Linked DNA regions of Homo sapiens: region 2 is linked to region 1. Evidence: promoter capture Hi-C in human tissues and cell types (Jung and others, 2019). All regions are on one chromosome and are shown on one strand. The core of a region is centred on a gene start or on the middle of the fragment in contact, and the rest is flanking DNA. Distances in the headings are between cores, read along the strand shown. Region 1 holds the start of RNF141 (ring finger protein 141). Region 2 overlaps ZBED5 (zinc finger BED-type containing 5).

Region 1 (6,534 bases), core at 3,996-6,495:
TTAAATTCAACAAGTAGCACGTGCCTGGTGCTTATGTTCTGGAGATAAAACAGTGAACAAAAGAAACATGGTTCTTGCCACTGTGGAGCATCCAATACAGTGGAGAAGAGACAGTAACCACACAAATAAATGTATAATTACAAAATGAGAAGTGCTAGGTGAACAAGTACAGGTGCTGTGAAAGCCTATAAAAGGGGGACTTGACCTAGTTTTGTATCAGGGAAGAAGTCCCTGGGCAAACAACATTTTACTTGAGGTCAGAATGGTCAGAGTTAGGGATTAAAAAAAAAGTAGGGAAATGGCAAAAGGAGGACACTCCAGGCAGAGGTTATGAAAAGTGCCTGAGACAGGAAGCAGCACGGTGACTTTGAGGTAATTTTTAAAAAGGCCACAAGGACTAAAGCAGAGAGGCAAAGGGAGAGGGAAACTGGCACCAAGAGTTGGGCTGTTTAACATTTTTGTTGATGACCTGAAGACTGTATGCCTGCCCAATCTGCGGATGACCAAAACTGGAATAAATGAATATTATCTAGTGAATAATAGGATCAAGACTAAAACAGACACTTACATGCTATTTAATATGACTAAAAGTTATATCCTGAAGAGCCAACTGCACAAAAACACATATGTAAGATGTGCTCAAAAGCAGTTAAAATACAGAAGGTCTGGGTTTTTGTTTTTGTGTTTTTTAAAGAGATGGAGTCTCTTTAAACAAACAGAGTTTGTTGCCCAGTCTGGTAACAAACTCCTGGGCTCAAGCAATCCTCCCGCCTCGGCCTCCCAGGCCGAGGATTACAGGCATGAGCTGCCGCACCCGGCCAAGTCTGGGGTTTTTAATCAAAATAAGTCAACAGTATAACGGGGGCAACAAGTATGCTAAAATAATCCTAAACTCTTGCTAGAAGCAGGTATCTTGAGCAAGCAGCCTACTAGTCCATTATGCTTTGCAATGGTTAGGCCACACTGAAAAGTCTGTATTCAGCTCTAAGCAGTTGGCTTTAAAGGATACTAATAAATTAGAACATATTCATGGGCATAGAAAAAAAAAGAGGTTTATTCTAGATAGTCATAGTTTGGTAACAATGAAGCAATATAAGTTTGTTTAAATATCTGAGGAGCTGTCATGTGGAAAAACAAGATTCATTTACAGAGAATGGGATGGCCACTAAGTATAGTAAGTATAAATTAGAAAGGCAGATTTCAGTTGATGATAAGCATGTCGCACCATCCAGAAGTGGAAATGGCTGCTACATGTGAGCTCCCTCTCATTGGAAGTATGGAAGTGTTTAGGTAAAGATTAGAAGTACATCTAATAAGTGTTACAGGGATTTTTACCTGGGTGGGAAGTGGAGTAGGTGACCTTTAACCTAACATTTTATTCCCAAAATGAAACTGAACCTTCCTCTAACATTCCTGTACCAATTTAATGAAAATGTAATTAAGATTCTAGTCAACCAGGCTGAAAACTTTGAATAATATCTACATTACTTAACAAAGAAAAAAACTGAACTTTTGAAATATATAGTCTCAATATTTAATATAAATACCTATGATAATTTAACCAACGTGGTATAGGGGAGATAGAATTTCTCTCCCTCTGCTCTCTGAGGTCTCCAGCTGGGCCCAAGAATTAAACTAACCTAAGACAGATTAACAGGAGAAAAACACACAAATTTTATTTAGTAATTTTTATACATACACAGGAGCCCTCAAGAAAAATAAGGACTAAAAAAAGTAATTAAGGCCAAAAGCTTACATAGTAGATTGGACAAAGGAGAAGTAAACTGTGAAAACATGACAAGACACAAGGGTTTGGGCTGGGCCAGTTAATCACAGAAAAGTGACTAGGAAGATAAGGGTTACTTTAAGAAGGCTTCTTTGAACACATTTCTCTCAGCTTTGATTGCCCACTTCTAGTAATGATAATGTCTTCCTCCTGGCATAGAGAGGACATCTTTCACATGGCTGTTTTATCTCCAGCCTTCAGGAAGAATTAGGAGGGTCAGTGGGCACTTCTTACATCTGCTGCTTTTCAATGTGCTTTTAACTCAAAATAATCCTTATGCCAAAGTGGCGTATTTTGCTACCCTACATTACCCACCAAAACCATATTTCAAAAGAAGAGTTAGTTGCTTATTTATTGAGTTATTAATAGAAAATGATCCCCTTTGTTTCAGCATTGTTTTCATCTGCTGCCCTAACTTTGAGTAAAGTTTATAATTTGAGGCAGCATATTAACTTGTTATCTTGTAACTGTACTTGGTATCTGGGAAACTTCATCACTAACTCCTTGCATTAAAATGCAACAGTATCTAGAGACTACCTGAGAGAGCCTGCAGAAGTGGTTTTCAACCTGGTTCCAGAAAGAGGGCTTGACATTTAGTTTATTTTGAAAACCATAAAATATTGATAAATATTAACATCTATCACTATATGGGTGTGAAAATAAGATATGACTCTGTGATCTGCATACAATATAAAACCACAACACAGAGTGCATGTTCACGAAAACAATCTGTTGAGGCCATCCTCTAGTCAACCACCACAGCTTTTCAGTGTCCCTCTTTGGTGACTGCACATATTTCTATCATACTATGACATTCGTTAAGTCACTTGGCCATTTCCCTCTAGTGAGCTTCTTGAGGACAGCAGCTATGGTCTGTCTTCTGGCAGATACACAAGCACTCAATAGATGTTTACTGAATAAATGCAGTAAATACCATTGGCAGTTTTTGTTTTATTATTATTCACTTAGTATTCTTTTGACTTTTGTTAATTTGGTCAGTCATCTATTAGTACTAGGTTGGAGAGAAGCAGAAGTTAAAAATATGTATGAAAGAAAATGTAAAACTGTGAAAATCTGTCATTAAATTAATGCTTATGTAAACTGGGAAACATTTACTATTTGATTTTAACAAGATACTCCCCCCTAGGCCATGCAACAGTGGTATTGCATAGAAACATAATTTGCAAACCACTGGCACAGAATTCAACAAAAGATGAATTTCTGGTCAAGATTTCTCAAAGAACTAGCAGCTCTCATATTATTGTGCCACCTATAACACAGTCATTTTTTGCAAGATAAAAATATGCTTTCAAAAAGCATTTGAAGGATTTTCTAAATAAAGAACTGTTATTTTGAAATGCACAAGATCAAGGATTCCAAAAATGCCACATTCTCTAGTGGGTGGTACATAGTGAATCACTTATTTTTCTAACAAATGAATTGTGGAAGTTCAAATATTCCTTATAAAAATATTAAAATTACATCATGGGTAACTGGCAAAGCAAAAACGAAAAAACTGCTCAAAAACTCCTAAAAATTTAAACCATAATTCATTCATAAAATAACTAAAGCAAAATGGAAAAGGCTGAAAATGCACCAAAATGACTAAATGACAAGTACTGCACTGTAGTATTTTAAAAACCTCTCTGAAACCAGTTCTCCATCAAATTTTGTATCAACCTCACCTAAAAGGATTTAATTGAAATAAACATCAATGATTTTCACTGTCAAGTCAACTTTAACATCAGTAATAAATACCAAGTACTACTGACTGGGTCCCTAAGGATATTATTTACTTTATTACTCATTGTTTACTCAAACTGTAGATCTGTAAACAGATATCAACTTTTTTTTTTCAAGACAAGTTAATATAGATACATAGTGAAATAATTAGGCCAGAGTCACTATAGAGTCCAGAATGCCTGTTCCAGAATCAAAGATCTTGATCAGAAAAAGATACATACATATATATTAGAGAGAGAAGGAGAGAGAAACTACAAAAGGATAGAGTGCCGTACTAGGAGATTAAGAATATGGATTTCTCACAGTAACAGTGTGTTTACTAAATGCATTTCATATTGGAAAAAGCATATTAGACTTGTAAGAATTCTCTCTGGACCTCCCTTGCCTTTTTGGGAAGGAAAGCGTGTTTGTATTTAGATGGGAACCAAGAAGGATCAGGCTACACACATCGAATATAAAGTTCATTTACACCAAATGACAAATATTAATTTTTGAAACATATAGTCATATTCTTGAGAAAAAGTTCTAGAAACTGAAGTCAGGCAATGTGAAAGAAAAGGATAAAAATCCATACTATTTTTGAGCTCTGAATTCAGAAAGCATCACTTCTCAGACGGGTGACTTCGACATGGAGGTGACTAATTTAGGATCGTCGGCCGGTGGCAGCTCATGCCCCCAGACAAAATTCTGAATGGGTAGAGGTCATTTTATAGCAAGAAGAATGGGCAGAAGGGAGTGAAAACGAATAAATTCGTGCTGAAGATGTAAGAATTATAAACAATTGAAAGTGTTCCAGCAGCTTTATATATATGCCAGAGGCAAGAACTGAATTAGCTGGCACCGCTAAATAGGACAGTGTCAGAATATAAAAGGTACACTACCTTTAATAAGGGGCATAGGGATCGATTTCAATAACAATCGTAAATCCACATTTTGTAACGCCGAGACAAATAACTGAAGGAATAATTTCAAAAGCTAACACAGAAGCCTTCTGCTCCTGCTGTGTAATCACTACCTTCTTATTATTAGCAAGAAAACGTTCTTTTCTTAGCCGGGTCTCAAGGTAGCAGCTAGTTTGACAAGGAAAGACCTTTGGGAAGGGTAGCAGCCTAAGCCAATTCATAAGTGTGGGGCTGGCTAAGTAGATCGACGTGGCTATTTCTGAGCTATCGTCCCAGGCAAAAGGTTTCTTATTTGGGTGTCCAGCCCGGCGGAGACCGAGCCCGCGGGCCACCCTAGCGCTCGCTCTGGCTACGCCGCCTCAGCCCCTCCTCAAGCGCACCTGGACATTTAACCAACAGCTAAGTCCGGCGGCCGAATGACTGAGCCGGCGGCAATATTCAAACAACCGTTTTGGGATAGAGAAGGAAAAACTCTCTCCGGGTCCCTCAGAACCACCCCGAGGCGGGACAAGCCACCGCCACCCCGGGCAACTGGAACCCGCCGGGCAGAAGACGGGCGTCAATAGAATGGCCTCCCCAGCCGTCCCCACGCCCCAATCCGAGGCCCGGGGAGGGCGGCGGGGCTAGGCCTGTCTCCCCGCGGAAGCCTGGCTCGGCAGCGGAGGGCCCTCTGGGGTTTCTCTTCCCAGACCCAGAGTCCTGGAGCAGCTAGCAAGGGAAACACGAAAGGACAGCGCCGCGGAGCTCACCCCAGGTTCAAGGCATCGCGCACCCTGCGGCAGCGGCTGCGCTGCCTCAGCCCACAGCTCAGACCTGCGGGTGGCCGCGACTCAGGCCGGGACCCGGTCGCACCTCTGTGACGCAAAGCCCCGCCCCCCGCGCGTTGCCGGGAGACGGCGCCCAACCTTCCTCTGCAGCGCCCCTACCGACCCGCGCTCCGCAGCTCCTGAGGGCTTTCGAGCCCAGATGGTCATCTGAGACGAGAGGTGGCGGCGAAGGAGAGTCTCGCCTGTCACGCTCCCGGAGCAGGGGCTTCATGAGGTGGCCATGGAAACAGCCTGGCAGACTCCCATCTCTCCTGGTGCCATCTCCGGAGCGGAAAGTGGAGCGCCCCGCTGGCGACCAAGGCCGCACTGAGAGCCCTGGTTTGGTCAACAGTTGGGCTCCAAGGTACCACTTCCCAGACCTCCAGCCTCCCCACTGATGATAGATACACAAAGGTCATCTTGTTTCTTTATGAGGCAATGGATTGTGTTCACCTAGCCGAGTTGTTAAGCATAAGAGAATGTATGAAAAGTAATTACAAGGTTCAAAATCCTGAGCTTTGATAAATGATAGATATGATGATGAGCACATGTTAGTGATATTACTGCTCTGCGGGACGTCTGAATCAGTAATTGCTGTCTTTTAAGCATCTGTTGTGTGCCAAATACTGCACTAGGCACTTTACGGGCATTGCTCTTGTTTAAGTCGTCTGGTCAAAGTTGCCTAGACAATAAACAGCAGAGCAAGGATTTTAACCCAGGTACAGCTGACACTGCTGCCTCTATGCTTAGCAGTTAAACTGGTTTTTATGTTTCTTGTTTGTACACCCCTCCTTCACCAGTCACTTGTAGATTCACCTTGTGAAGAGCTAATTCTTCCCTCTAATAATAATACTCTTTGACCATTTACTATATGTCAAACCGTATTTTAAGGACTTTAAAGGTATTAATTCGTTTAATCTTCACAGCAATCCTGTGAGTAGGTATTATTAATACCTTCACTAAGACACAGGCTTAGAAAAGTCGATTAACTTTTCCAAGGTCAAACAACCATTAAGGAGCAGAGCCAGATTCAAACCCAAGCAGACAGAACCCTGAACCTGTGTTTTTAATTCCTGTTTTAAACTGCCTCGGTAGTACGGTAAGACTTCATTAGCGCTAGGTCCATGCCTGTTTGTGCACCATTATTTCCCTGACAGCCAGCATGGTACTTGTTCAATATTTGAACATTTGATGAATATTTGAACACTGGAAAAGGAAAAAGCTTAAAAATGAAGTATAAATAATGATTTAATAAATTCCAAAAGATATCAAATTCAACAAGATTCCATAGTTCAGC
Region 2 (6,387 bases), core at 3,464-5,963, 310 kb after region 1:
TTTTCGTAATGTTACATATAGTAGGAATTGTGTTTTACCTTAATACTTCACTTTTTAAGCTAGGAAACTCAATTCACTGTTTACTTTTTATATTATTAGAAATTTACCAAGATTTATGAATGACACATCATACCCACAAAAAGCTTATGGTGTATTTTTGTATGTGGGGTGGTAGGGCAAGTCTAACTTATGAAATAATCATAATTAAGAAATCAAGGCAATTTCAATTATTGTAAATATAGGGATTAAAAGTGGGAAAGTCCTTTTGCGTTGGACACAAGAGGGGCATTTTACTGTTTTATGCATGAGTTGGAAGAGTAGCTATCATTTGAGGGTGCCATGAGAATGTAATTTAGTCCCCAAATAGCTCTTCCATTTATTAAATGGAATGCCATTCATTTCTTCCTCTAAGAGTTGTTCTCTCTTTTATGTGAAAGGGTTTGTCAGAGGTTTCCCTCCAGCTCCAGAGAGTGCTTCATTATTACAGTCTCAGGGACATTACAGTGGCAGAAGGGTAACCAAAGGGCTTTGGAAGTATGGAAGAAAGGGAGGCTGGCAGTGCTTGTTACTTGGTTTCCTTTGGTTTTATTTAGAGAAAAAAAAGCCAATTCTGAAGGGTAGGTAGGGTTTAAATACAAAGGAAAAGAATCTTCTCTTTGGGATTCAGTCACGGTAACTACATTTAGGTTAGGGTAATCTAGAACTAGTTGCTATCTGGAACTCGACTTGTCTGTTGTCCACCAGACCCACCTTCACGTACTAAAAGTCCATTCTCACTAGCTGTGCATGGTATCCATAATTTAGTCCTGATACGTTACAGATGAGGTGAACAGCTGGCATCAAGAACCAAAATGGGTACGGTCAGCATTAAAAAGGTCTAGTAGCAGACAGCAGGGTCTCAGATAATGGACTTGGACTTAAGAGCAGGAATCTAGTCTCCAAGGAGGTTAGGGGAAAAGGACTGGAAAACAAGAATGGTTTTATATTTTAAGAGGCTGACATCTTGGACAAATAATCTAATGAAGGGCTCGAACTCAGCAATCGCAGGAGTCTAGTTACCAGGCTTGAGGTATATGCTGGACACAGATATTAAGGAACTGCACATCCTTCTCAAACTAGGGTATAATTCTGGGACTAGTAAATAAAAAGCATTGCATATATAAGAAATTATGATACATCTTCTAAGGAATTAGTAGTTGACAGCAATTTACTCTATATTTTACATGAAAATTAGTCATATTTTAAATTAGCCAATTTCGGTGAATTTAGAAGTAAACACAAGACTTCAAAGAAATGTCCAGATTCTAGTAGGCAGTTTCAGGCTGTACTTCCAAGTCACTGTTTGTCTTAGAAAAGTTCAGAAGGCAATGATGGGAAAAAGCTCTGTATTTGGGAAAGACTTACTTTAAACTAAATCCTGCTAATTACCTATGACCTAGGTCAAGTCCAAAAATGACTGAATCCCATAAGATTGTTGTAAAGATTATAGATAAATACAAAGCAACTATTAAAGTGCCTGACAGGCTGGGCGCAGTGGCTCACATCGGTAATCCCAGTGCTTTGGGAGGCCTAGGTGGGCGGATCACCTGAGGTCAGGAGTTCAAGGTCAGCCTGGCCAACATGGTGAAACCCCGTCTCTACTAAAAATACAAAAATTAGGCCAGCTGTGGTGGCTCATGCCTGCAATCTTAGCACTTTGAGAGGCCGAGGCGGGTGGATCACCTGAGATCAAGAGTTCGGGACCAGCCTGGCCAACATGCAGAAACCCCGTCTCTACTAAAAATACAAAAATTAGCTGGGTGTGGTGGCACGTGCCTGTAATTCCAGCTACTCGGGAGGATGAGGCAGGAGAATCGCTGGGGGATGGGGGGCGGGCGGGGGGTGGGGACTGAAGTTGCAGTGAGGTGAGATCACGCCACTTTACTCCAGCACAAACAAAATTAGCTGGGGGTGGTGGTGCACACTTGTAATCCCAGCTACTTCGGAGGCTGAGGCATGAGAATTGGTTGAACTTGGGAGGCAGAGGTTGCAGTGAGCCAAGATCGCGCCACTGTAATCCAGCCTGGGTGACAGAGCAAGACTCTGTCTCAAAAAATAAATAAATAAAATAAAGTTCCTCACAGACAAATAAGTGCTTAATAAGGCAACAAGGAGGAAAAACCTGGGCTAGAAGTATGTAATCTTGTTGCCTTGGATCAGGAAATGTCCCATGGTCTAGTAAACTGTTGAGTCTCCAGAGAATAAAAATCCAGATTAGAAGTGTGAAGTGTAGACTCAACTTTAACTGGAACATAGTTGGATATGGCAGAGAACTAATATATGCTGTACACCTACTCCTGATCATCAACTGTTAGGAGCTTTATATTTATACATTCACATTTAATCTTGATAACAACCCTTCAAAGGAGGCGTAATTGTAATTTTATAGATGAAACAACTGAGGTTCAAGTTCAGATTACCGTACATTACAAAGTAAAGTAGGTACTTGAACCTAGTCATTTTACCACATTCTGCCTTAATGGTGGGGGGTGGTACCTTTACTCCCTAAAATGGAAGTTTCAATAAATGAGATTAAATAATGGTTATCTACAGTAGTTCTTGACTACAGGAGTAACAAATATTTAACACTGAGTTGGTGAACTGTGTTGCATGACGTGATGTAGGAAAAGTAGCCCAGAGACAGGAAATTCAGTCAGGAAATTTTTACAGTATTATAAGAACAAACTGATTTCTGGTCTAAGCATCTCTGACTACAGTAAAGTCTCATTAATTTATACTGCATGTGGAATTTACAATAATCTATATAGGAACTGAGAAAAAAACAAAGTATCTGAAAATACTCTTCACACTTCATCCCCTCTCCCTCAATAGTTCAGCCTGAATCATAAAACTATGACATTCCTCGATGACCTCTGCATAATGGCCACACTGAACTCTAGTTAATAGAGTAAGTGAGCCAAAAAACCCAAAGGGTAGCAGTGTGTACACCTGCTACCATACCAATCAATGAATGTAGGAAATCCCCCATTCCATTTTTTGTTGGTTCACTTTCACCAACATGTTTTTCCTTTACTGAGCATCTAATTTAGTAAAGCCTTTTTCCAGATTATGGAGACACAGATTTGGATAAGACTCAATAAGACTCTCTAAGAGCTTAGTCTGAAAACATTGGGAACCGTGAGACCATCAAGGAGTTCACAGTTGAGACAGACACAAACATTAAATACAAGTGTGAAACAGCATCAAAATAGGAAGATACAGAGAATGAAAGTACCTACAAGTCAAAGTGTTGAAGCAAATAGGAGCCTACCAGAAAGTAAGATGGGGACAGAATCGCTTTTTGAGACCTGAAACGATAAAACAGTGTGATATGTTTAGGGAATGGCAAGAAGTTCCATGGGATTGGAGAGCTGCAGAGTAGACACGGAAAGATTGGTAGGGATTAGATCCTGAAGAGATATGTTAAGGGACTGGGACTTTATCTTGGGGATCATTATTTCCCAGTTATGATCATGGAACTCTTTAAAATTACAATGTAAAGAAATACCAATAATAACACAATATGTTTAAAACGTTTGATTCTTTAGCCTTCTTAAAATCTAAATAGTATAAAAAAATGGAATCATTTTATTTAAATCCCCCAAATACCAGAGATGAAGTAAATCATCTTTTATTTTCATCTTACATTTGGTTATCATGAGACATGCAAACTCCTCCAATTTTAATGAGAACAGTGTTTTTGTGTCTTTTTATCACATATCCGCTTAATATTAGGTGTAATATTGCTAAGTCGGATTCGCATATGAGGTGCAGCATCAAGTCTTTTCCTATATTTTGTTTTTGTTGCAGCGTAATATGAAAACCCCGTTTCACACAGGTGCATTGTAGCAAAAGGAAGAAGTACACGCACTGCACGCCTTGCAATGCTTGGGTATTCCTGAATTAGGCTACTCCAAAAATCATTTAGTGAAAGTTCACTAAAATTTTGCTTCACTTGAGAATCAGATGTTAAATCAATCAGGCTCTCATAGTCCCGTGCTACTAATGAAGCTGGTTTAACAGTAACTGTAAATGGATTTCTAACCCAAGCATTATTGTCATTTGTTACAGGAAAGTATTTTAACAGAGTAGCGCGCAAACCCCTTAGGTGCTGCACAATGGCACTGCAAATATCTTTATCAACTGTAGAATTAATTTCAGTCAAAAAATCACTGAGTGTAGGAAAACAATCAAAGTTTTCTTCTTCTACAGATGAGGCCCAAAATTCCAATTTTCTTAACAATGACGACATTTTATCAAATACTGTAAAAACGGTCACATTTTTTCCTTGCATTGACAAATTAACTTCATTTAATTTAGTAAAAATATCTGCAAGATATGCAAGTCTTAGCAGCCAAGATGAATTTGTTAAACAATCAGATAGTCGAAAAGCAGAATCCATGAAAACCAAAAGTTCACGACGAAGTTCAAAAAGTCTTACAAGAACTTTACCTCGAGAAAGCCACCTCACCTCTGTATTTAGAAGAAGTGCTGTGTGCTGAGCACCCATTTCCTCACATAAAATTTTTAATAGTCTGGATTGATGTGGTCGAGCTTTAATATAATTGATGATTTGTACTGCCTGGTCTAGCACATTTTTTAGAGATGTAGGCATTATTTTAACTGCCAGTGCATGTCTGTATAATAGGCAGTGACTACTGGTGCTTTCGGGAGCCACATATTTTATTAAGGTGACAGCTTCGGCAATTTTCCCATCCACTGCCCTAGAAGCATCACTACAAACATCAACACATTTTTCCCATTCAATTTCATGTTTCTGCATAAAACTGTTGATACAGTTGAATATTTCTTCACCGGTAGCATTACTTTGCAAAGATTCACACAGGAGTAGGTCTTCCTCAATAGACTTATTAAACCTATAACGAACAAACACAAGCAGCACAGCAAGTCCTGAAACATCAGCTGATTCATCTAGTTGCAGTGAAAACCCATCGCAAATTTTCAGTCTACAAACAAGCTCTTCTTCAATGTCAGCAGCTAGATCCTTAATTCGACGTGCAACAGTACTGTTTGATAGCTGTACTGCATCTATTTTTTTACTATATTGTTCATCAAACATCCGCATCACTACATCTTTTGCACAAGGTTTGATAAGCAATTCTCCAATAGTATGAGCCTCTCCACTCAGCGCTATATGGTAACTTACATTGTATGATGCTTCTGTAGCACTTTCATTATCTGTATTCACAATTTTAGGTGTTGGGGGTTTATTATTTTCAGGTGAATCGAGATGTTGCTTGAAAAAGCTTATGTCTTTGTCTTTATATGCAGCATGTTTAGTTTCCAAATGTCTTCGAAGCTTACTAGGGGCTAAAGAGCTATTTGATAAAATTTTCTTACATAATACACACTGAGCATGAGGTGCATCTCTATTTCCGAAGTAAGTAAATCCAAAAGACAAATAACTTTCATCATATTTTCTTCTTTTTGGTTTTTTACTAAATGTTATTTTGTTGGAATTGGATATAAATTTGACCCTGGAAAGCTCACCTTCTGATTTTTTAGAAACTGAAGGTTGCAACTGCTTATCTTCACTTTGTAATATTCCAACCTTCTGATCATTTGATTCAGACACAATCTGATAACAGAAAGATTCCACTTCTTGTTTAAGACTTCCTTGTTTCAGCAACAGATCCATGGGCAATGAGTTTGTGGTACAAAACATGGTTAATTTAGAATAGACATTGAGTATCGCAAATGTGTTGAAATTATAAGACAGGATACAAAGAAGAGGAGCAATCATCAAAGAGATGATATACAGCAACACATCAGTTAATTTGTAAATGCTGCCTATTCATCAATGCGCAGATGGAACATCATACGTTCATGTATCAGGTGATCTCTCATGCGACTTCCTGGTGCTCTCAGGTATGGTACACCTTTTCTTAAAGGTAGATTATCACATAAAAATAAAAGCTATAGAAATGAGTTTAGCAGTCTTAATCTCATATTTAAATAAACATATTAAAATCAACCATAAAGAAAAACCAATATTAGCATCAATCATTTTCTCAAAACATTTATTAACTTAGAGAATATTAATATTCTATAAAACATAATTTGGGAATCACTGAGCCAATAAATTATTAAGAGTTGTTATACATATTTTTAAGAAAGGGACCCTGAAGAATATGTCCCATGGCAGGGGTTGGCAGGCTTTTTTTGGTCAAGGGCCATATAGTCTCTGTTGCAACTACTCAACTCTGTAGTTGTAACATGACAGCAGCCATAGACAATACATGAAAGAATGGACACAGGTGTGTTCCAATAAAACTTTACGTACAAAACCAGACAGCATGGGCCATAATTTATCAGCCCTGTCTCATG

Evidence for each region. Contacts are between HindIII fragments. The study calls those that stand out against the background at their distance.
Region 2: a fragment that was not itself captured here is called in contact with the fragment with the promoter of RNF141 in region 1 in 1 of the 25 tissues and cell types used here (hippocampus).

Annotation. Positions count from the first base shown.
Region 1 is chr11:10,535,942-10,542,475 of GRCh38, forward strand. It overlaps RNF141 (ring finger protein 141), which reads right to left and starts at 5,246. Exons shown (of 6, transcript NM_016422.4): 1 at 5,181-5,246. IRAG1-AS1 (IRAG1 antisense RNA 1) reads left to right here and starts at 5,295. Exons shown (of 4, transcript NR_046375.1): 1 at 5,295-5,601. RefSeq lists an enhancer at 5,322-5,431. The HindIII fragment of the contact is 8,088 bases long and covers 1-6,534 here.
Region 2 is chr11:10,849,143-10,855,529 of GRCh38, forward strand. It overlaps ZBED5 (zinc finger BED-type containing 5), which reads right to left. Exons shown (of 3, transcript NM_001143667.2): 3 at 3,564-5,944. The coding sequence starts at 5,803. The coding sequence ends at 3,722. Among named protein-coding and RNA genes, the nearest start is that of ZBED5, 5.7 kb to the right of the region's middle. RefSeq lists silencers at 1-83, 727-927. The HindIII fragment of the contact is 3,978 bases long and covers 2,725-6,387 here.